2 separate regions of the Homo sapiens genome follow, and region 2 is linked to region 1. The links are contacts of gene promoters, found by promoter capture Hi-C in blood cells and fetal thymus (Javierre and others, 2016). All regions are on one chromosome and are shown on one strand. The core of a region is centred on a gene start or on the middle of the fragment in contact, and the rest is flanking DNA. Distances in the headings are between cores, read along the strand shown.

Region 1 (3,771 bases), core at 1,024-3,523:
GAGGTTTTTTATTAACCATAATAAATCCAAACTTCTATCTTCCATATGCCTCCTTCTATTATATCTAACCTTCTATTCTCTCCAAAAGCATATAATTATGCCTGTTTCCTTACTGTGCCACAAACAGACTAACACATACTACCACGGAGCTGTTTATTTTCCAAACGGGATATCTTTTTCCATTCTCTCATTCAACATCCAACGGTCCATCAAGGCCCAACTCAAAACCTATTATTCTCCACAAAGCCCATTATATAAACCCTACAAGACTTAAAACAGATTCCAAACTAGTGACTGATAGGCCATATGAGACTTGTGTTTGACCCACTTTTTTTTTTTTAATAAAATTCTATTCCACTGACAACATTTAAAAACTGGGAGAGGATGCTTTTTAAAAAATGGTATTTCCAACTTTTTTTGAAAAAATTAGATGTTCTGGCAAAACTGGGATCATATTCTCACATAGCCACAATCAGCTGTAGCTGAGTGGCAGGTGACCCCTTCTAAGGGTGAAGTATTCATTAACGTTAACTGCCTGATCTCTGCAGCATACCTTCAGCACCTGCAATCATTCAAGAAATAACTGACTGTCTTATGTGCCAAGAACTGTATTAGCTACTGGAGTTACAAAGATAAACGAGACAAACACAGTCCCTCACCGACAGTCTCGCTTAGTAGGGATGGCAAAGAAGCAATTAAGATACATGTGATAAATGCCGTGAGGGAAGTGCAGGACAGCTAAGAGTACATAGCAAAAATACCTAACTCTATGGAAGTTAGGGTATACCCCTCAAGTAAAGTGACAGCTAAACTCAGATCTTTAATAGAAGTTATCCAGAAAAAGATAGGAGGAAACAGGGAGCTCAAATGTCCCAGAGAGAGAAAAGAGCCTTTGTGAAGATACTGAGGGAAGAAAGTATTCTGAGGAATTGAAATCCGTTCAACATGGCTACAGCCATGCCCAACCTTTAAATGCAGGGTCAGAGAAAGGGCTCAACTGAAATGGCTGGCAGGAAAATCTACGTGTTATCAATAGTTAAGGTTAGGAGATGAAGGAGAATTTCACTAAAGAAGTTGAATATGTAAAATAGTTTAAGCAGGAAATAGAGGTTTCAGAAAGCACAGATGGGGTGTTGAGGGGTTAAATGGGGAAGAAACGAAGAAGCAGTGATAGCCTAAGTCGAAAGAAAGCACAAAGCAGCATGGAAATGAGACTATAGCACAGAAGACCACAGAAGCTTACATCTTGGGCGGTAACCAAGGATAACAGAGATGTAAAGCATGGTAAGTTTGGCTGGCCACAAGTATGCCTAGAGAATTAGTGCCAGCGGTCTCCTGTCGGCCACGGAGGCATTCAGGCCTCTCAAAATTCAGCTGCGCCCTGGATGGATTGTACTTCCGTCTCTATAGAAGACATCGGCTTCACTCTGGATTGATTGTGCAGGCTCCAGGAGAGGCTGTGGGTTCCAGGCTGCTGGAACGCAGGCTCCCAGGGAGTGGTTAGAGGCCTGGTCTGTATGTGCTGGTAGGCAGAAGTATAAATTACCTTGCATTACGTTCTGATTTTTCTGTAGGAATGGTGGGCATGTTATGGCCTCTTAGAGAAAAAGCAGTGCGTAGCCATTATAGATTTACAGGAAGAGAAAAGGTGCCAAGAAGATCAACACTTGTCCATACCCATACTAAAGATGAGTCATTCTGTGAATCCAACTCTCCCCAAGTTGACCTCGTCTCCCCAACTAGACTGAGATCTTCACCAGAAAACAAAACAAAACAAAACATAAAAGGTCTGTTTATTTTGTAGTTCCCAAAGTGCCTAATAGCTGGGTACCGTGAACACCTTCAGTAAAATTACCGACTTCCTGACTCCTCTCGGGTCACTGAAGTTACCTAGCTCAGTCGTCTTCTTGCATATTAAGGCGCTACAGAGAGGCGAACCCCTATCTTAGACTCAATACTTCCCTTTATTCCAAACTCCACTGCGTCTCTCCACCCTCAACCGCATGGGCAGAATTGTCACACAATTCAAAGGCAGGAGAATCCAGGACCCGACACAGAAAACTCCCGCCCACTCCCCCCCGTTTAGCAGCCCGCACACGCTCTGCATCCATCTCTGGGAAAGGTAAAAAGCGCTCACCGACTCTGGCCCTCCGGGAGACCCCGTAAATGCAGCCGTCCGCTCGCCGCCGTTATCCCAGGTAGGTACTTCCGGCGCGCGCAATGACGTTAGCGAAGCGCTCGCCTCTGGGCCCGCCTTCGGGGCCCGGATCTCAAACAGTCGGGAAGAAGCACCGTGGCTGCTATTATCTGCTCTCCGCGCCTGACCCCTCCCAGGACTCGTGATGCCAAGGCCGCTGCGAGCGGCTACGAAGAGTCGGGGTTGAGCCCCAGCTGAGCCGAGGGCTCGCACTCTTCTGGTCTCCCAGGCCCAACCCACCTGAAGGTAAACGCCTCCTCAGCTGCGGCCTTCTCTCCTGCGGGGCCCCCTCCCCAGACTCGGCTGCCAAAACGCTCTGCCCCTCTCTCCCGCCACCCTTTTTATTCCAGGACCTTAACCTCTGCCTGCCTTCGCGGCTCTCAGCAGAACGTGTAACGCATAGTTTCAAATGAGAAACTTAAAAAGCGACGTATCTATGTTGAGTTCCTGAAGTTTTCTAAATAATTCCCCCATAACACCAAACATGAGGCAGTTTTCTCATTCCTTCACGAATTGGCATGCCATAGAGTCAGTATTTTTCCATTTGTGATGGTTGATCTTCCCATCTCAAATACACACCGCACGCTCTTTTTAAATCAGAAATTTGAATTTGGTTGAGCCTGATATTTTCACGGTAATTTGCTGACTTTGTAAGATAAGATGTGAAAATTACTGATTACATTTGTAAACTTTATATACATATACACACATACCTACAGGTCTGTCTCTTCGAGGCACCAAGCCTATTTATATAATGTATCATTTCATAATTTGGCAATAAGCAAAATTAGCGTTTCGAAAGAAGTTTATATTGTCGATACATAAAGCTTAAATTTACTCCTTAACATCATACTAAAAGGGGAAAAGAAAATTTTCCTCTTAACACACCACTCCAGAGAAAAAAAATATTAAGACAAGCAAAAAAGGTACCCAGCCATAGTACAGGCATGCACAGCATAACAACTTTTTGATTAACAACAAACCACATATACCACAGTGGTCTCCTAAGAGTGTAATACATTGTACCATATTTTTAGTGTACGTTTTCTGTGTTTAGCTATGTAAATATTTACCATTGTGTTTCAACTGTCTACATTATTCACTACATTAACATGCTGTACAGGTTGTAGCCTAGGAGCAATAGGCTAGACCATCTAGGTTTGTCTCAGTACACCCTGTGATGTCTGCACTGTGAAATCACGTAACACTCAGAACATACCTCCTTCATTAAGCATAGCATGACTGTGTATTAGCAAAAATCAGTGGCTAAGGTTCTGTCTGAGTCCCCATGCTCTTTCTGACCTGGGTGAGCAAGGTGCAGGTAATGTACATATACAGTACATATTCAATAGAGCATTTTTTTTGCTCATGGTCTGAGTGGAAGTTAGGAGTAGCCTCAGGGTTTTTCCTTCATCTGTTCAAAACCCGTCTCCCTACCCATACAATCTGGCACTGAAAGTGTTGGTATAAAGAATACTTGAAAGAAGAAGAACCAAAAAAGAATTTTTTTTAAGTGGTGACTGGGAAAAAGGAATTCCTTAATTCAGCCTGCTGGAGTCATTGTTCCTAACTTC
Region 2 (4,079 bases), core at 671-3,170, 2.2 Mb after region 1:
CCGATGCCTTTTTTTTCACGTCACATTTCTTTTAAAATGTAACCTGACCGCAGATACATAACTGTCCTAATACGGAACAGAATTTTTAAAGTAGTTTCTTGTTCTATGACCCCAAAGCTGAATTTCAAGCAAGGAATGCTCAGGAACCAAGATGTTCACTGCACCAGCTGAGACAAAAAGTAGTTTATTTTCATCTCAGCAAGAGGGAACTGTCAAAGAACCAGATGCTTCTCATCTGCGGAGCCCTTCTCTTCAGAAGCCGTGGGAATTGGCTCACCACCAGGGGGCGCAGTTTTACTATACCGTAGCATGCCGCGGAAAAGGCGCGCTCTCACCTGCAATATTGTCCGAGGTCTGAATATTAAAGAGTTCATTGCTGCAGATCTAAAGGCTCTCTCTGTTTAACTGATGCCTGGGAATGACGGTAGAGCCTTGCTTTAAAGCCAGACGATAACATTTAAATAGTTAAGCCGTCTGGCTTCATTAGTTTATTTTTCCTTGTTGCTGGCAAGGAAAGTACTATATTGTAGAGATAATCGTGACTGATAATCAAAACGAAAGCAGTTTTGACAAATTCTAATATAAGTTTTTACTGAAACAGGAATGACAAAATCCTTTTGTCTGAAAGGAAAAAAGTTATAGCTGCATGAAAAATAGGCCCCAGGCTAAGAAAGCTTTTGCTCAAATAAGGGAAATAAAAGAGCAGTGGAATTGTAGGAATAGAATCATATGATGCTTGACTTTTTGCCCTCAGCCTGAAGAATGAAAGCAAATTAGAGGCACAAAACATCTTTAGCAGTCCCAGCTGCTAGGAAGGCTGAGGCAGGAGAATCGCTTGAACCTGGGAGGCGGAGGCTGCAGTGTGCCGAGATAGCGCCACTGCACTCCAGCCTGGGCGACAGAGCGAGAATCTGTCTCAAAAACAAAACAAAACAAAACAAACTATCTTTAGCCCCTGATGCGCAACTGTATATTTTAAAAACATTTAAATTAAAGGGGGAAACAAACCCCAAATGAACCAACAACTGTTAATTCACTCAACAGTTTAAAAAATTGGTTGCAAATAACGTTATCTTTGCTTTGTTTCAAGTAAATGAGGCTGTTAAAACAGTGCCTCATGGAGGGCAACAGTGGGGATTCTCAGGAGAGAAGCTATCCTACCTTTTGGTTAGCATGTTGGGGCGGGGAAATGGAGACTGCCTGCCGAATCACAAATCAGGGTCTTGAGTTTTCTTTCTATTTCTGGGAATTACCCGTTACATGAGTGGAATGCATATATGTGAATTTTCTTTTACAGGTCGGGGATCCATGGAAGGAGGGTTTGGGATTCACCACAGAGATATGTTCTCTGTCCTCAAAGAATCAAATGTACCATTCCTTTAAAATAAGCATAAATTGAGGAGGGACTGGCGATGAGAGTGGAAACTAGCTATAGAAATGGGAGCATGCAGCCCTGAATTGCTCCAGAACAAACACATTTAATGCCAGGGAAGTAGACCACGCTGGGTAATGTCACAATACTATAAAAGGAAGGGTACTTGCTAGGTCCTATTCTAGGATATTTTTTCCAGCCCTCTCTCTAGGCTGCTGGAAGGACAGTGAGGCTGGTTTAGGTGCTCTCTCCCTCCTCTCCAAACACGGCAAACATTCTGGGTGGCTTCCCGTCTGGAAGCCTGTTGCCTGATGGCATCGCCACATTGGCTTGCTCCACCGCTGCAGCTCGGAAGGCAGGGTTAATTCCATACGGTTGCCAGAGCCCTAAATGAGGGAGCCTAGGTCAGAGGTCGCACCCACCGGGAGGGCGGGGTTTAGGGGTCCGGGGCGGGCTGAGCCTGGCCCCGCCCAAGGAGGGGGCGGGACGTTTCCCGGGCCCCGCCCCGCCGGCCCGGGGTTGCACGTGACCCGCGGTCCCGCCTCCCGCCCGCTCCGCAGCGCCAGCTCGGCAGGCGCGGGGCGTGAGTGTGGAGTGAGACCCGCCGGGCTCCAACTCCGCAGCGTCGGAGCGCGGCGGGCAGCAACTTTCTCCCCGGAGCGGCCGTGGCGGCGGCTGCTGCCGTGGCAGCCGGAGCGGAAGCCGGGAGGAAGAAAGCGGCGGCAGCGGCGGTTGCTCCCGCCGGCTCGGGCTGTCTAGCTCGCCGAGACTGCCGGCCCGCGGAGCCGCGTCCCCCCGGGCAGCCCCGGGCCCCTGCCCTATGTCCCGCAAGGCAAGCGAGAATGTGGAGTACACGCTGCGGAGCCTGAGCAGCCTGATGGGCGAGCGGCGCAGGAAGCAGCCGGAGCCGGACGCGGCGAGCGCGGCCGGGGAGTGCAGCCTCCTGGCTGCCGCCGAATCGAGCACCAGCCTGCAGAGCGCGGGCGCGGGCGGCGGCGGCGTCGGGGACCTGGAGCGCGCGGCGCGGCGGCAGTTCCAGCAGGACGAGACCCCCGCCTTCGTGTACGTGGTGGCCGTCTTCTCCGCGCTGGGCGGCTTCCTGTTTGGCTATGACACCGGGGTGGTGTCAGGGGCCATGCTGCTGCTCAAGCGGCAGCTCAGTCTGGACGCGCTGTGGCAGGAGCTGCTGGTGTCCAGCACGGTGGGGGCGGCTGCCGTCTCGGCGCTGGCCGGAGGCGCCCTCAACGGCGTCTTCGGCCGCCGCGCTGCCATCCTCCTGGCCAGTGCCCTCTTCACCGCCGGCTCCGCGGTGCTGGCTGCGGCCAACAACAAGGAGACACTGCTCGCCGGCCGCCTGGTCGTGGGACTCGGCATCGGTGAGTTCGGGCTCCGTGAAGGGCGCCCGGGATCCCATTGTCACCGCCCTTGACCCTGGGTGTTGCGTGCCTCTTGCCCATCGGGGTCCCCGTCTGGTCTCCCAGGGTCAGAGAATCCTCCACTTCTCTGGCCTCCAGAGCCCATCTGTTTGTTGGTCCAGCCTCCAAGGCTCTCCCGGGAGGTGGGAGGGTCGGGGGGGAGGGGGTGTCACTCTAGTCTCCCTCGAGCGCACGTGGAATCTTTGATAGGCCACGGACCAGTCAGTCCAAGTGGTTGTTGCCTCTCAGCACTTCCAGAAACCTAGCTGAGCACCAGCTCTTTCCTTGATCCAGCCTAACCTGATGCTGCTTCTTGAGCTTACGAGGGTCTCTGCTTTCCTGCACTGTCCCACCTTGCCTCTCCACTGCTAGCCCCTTTCGTTTTCTGGGGCTCCCAGCCTGGAACCTAGACCATCGTCAAGTTACAGTGAGATAATATTTAGAGTTAAGTAATTCTGGACTCTGAAAGGTTTATTAGCGACCCCTGCCCTCTTTGCTTATCTAGCATTTGTCTTTAGATGGCATCTCCTTTTGCTTTTATGCTTTTTCTATTGCCTTTCAGCTTTCATTCTTTTCCCAAGTAAATTCCATTCTCCTCTGTTTTTCCAACTTTTTCATTTGAATCCTTTTTTATCCATTCTCCTCTTTGTTTTTCCTCTCCTGCTTTCCAGTTGGGAACCAAATTATCTATTAAAGGTCATATTCACTTCCTTAATTCATTTAGGAGCTACTCCCCCTGTGGATAAATGCCCCGCAAGATAAATGTTTGGAATTTACTTCAAAAATGAAGGCATTAAGGTTCTCCTGGCGTTGAATTTTTTTCACCCTGGTTGCTGAGCAGGGGAGGTACAATTGGCAAGTTTTTGGCAGAGGGAAGCTATTTGGAATGTGCTCTGTATTATTAGAAAGCACTTTTGAGGGAAAGTGGGGGGCTGTGACTTAAATCTCACTAGTAATTTTTCTAAGACACACCGCTGATGCTTTTTTAATGTTTCGTTTCATAATTCAGTTTTTTGTTTCCCTTAGGGTGCTGTTGAAGTATTTCTTCCCTATGGCTGGGGCTTGATGAAAGCGCTTTAAACCTGGGGCTGCTGCTGATCTGTGTATTCACCACTTGTTTGATGTTTGTGCTTTTCACCCTTTCTCTGTGGGTTCTGAAGGGAAGCAAAGGCCATATATTCAACTCCACATGCGGGAACCATGAGCCTAAAACCCAGCTCACTGCACTTTATATTCAAAGTTTGTCAGTAGTGACCTTCCTTTTGCTGTTTATTGTACTGTTAATTAGCAAA

Evidence for each region. Contacts are between HindIII fragments. The CHiCAGO score rates a contact against its expected background, and 5 or more counts as called.
Region 2: a contact is called between the fragment with the promoter of SLC2A13 here and the fragment with the promoter of ZCRB1 in region 1, in 4 of 17 cell types (naive CD4 T cells, non-activated CD4 T cells, total CD8 T cells and 1 more). The highest score is 8.4, in naive CD4 T cells.

Annotation. Positions count from the first base shown.
Region 1 is chr12:42,324,596-42,328,366 of GRCh38, reverse strand. ZCRB1 (zinc finger CCHC-type and RNA binding motif containing 1) reads left to right here and starts at 2,273. Exons shown (of 8, transcript NM_033114.4): 1 at 2,273-2,443. PPHLN1 (periphilin 1) reads right to left here and starts at 2,200. Exons shown (of 10, transcript NM_201439.2): 1 at 2,138-2,200. RefSeq lists an enhancer at 2,528-2,577. The HindIII fragment of the contact is 1,786 bases long and covers 1,241-3,026 here.
Region 2 is chr12:40,103,922-40,108,000 of GRCh38, reverse strand. It overlaps SLC2A13 (solute carrier family 2 member 13), which reads left to right and starts at 1,920. Exons shown (of 10, transcript NM_052885.4): 1 at 1,920-2,748. The coding sequence starts at 2,193. RefSeq lists silencers at 256-385, 1,767-2,016, 2,037-2,296, 2,317-2,386, 2,397-2,486 and an enhancer at 597-766. The HindIII fragment of the contact is 3,714 bases long and covers 677-4,079 here.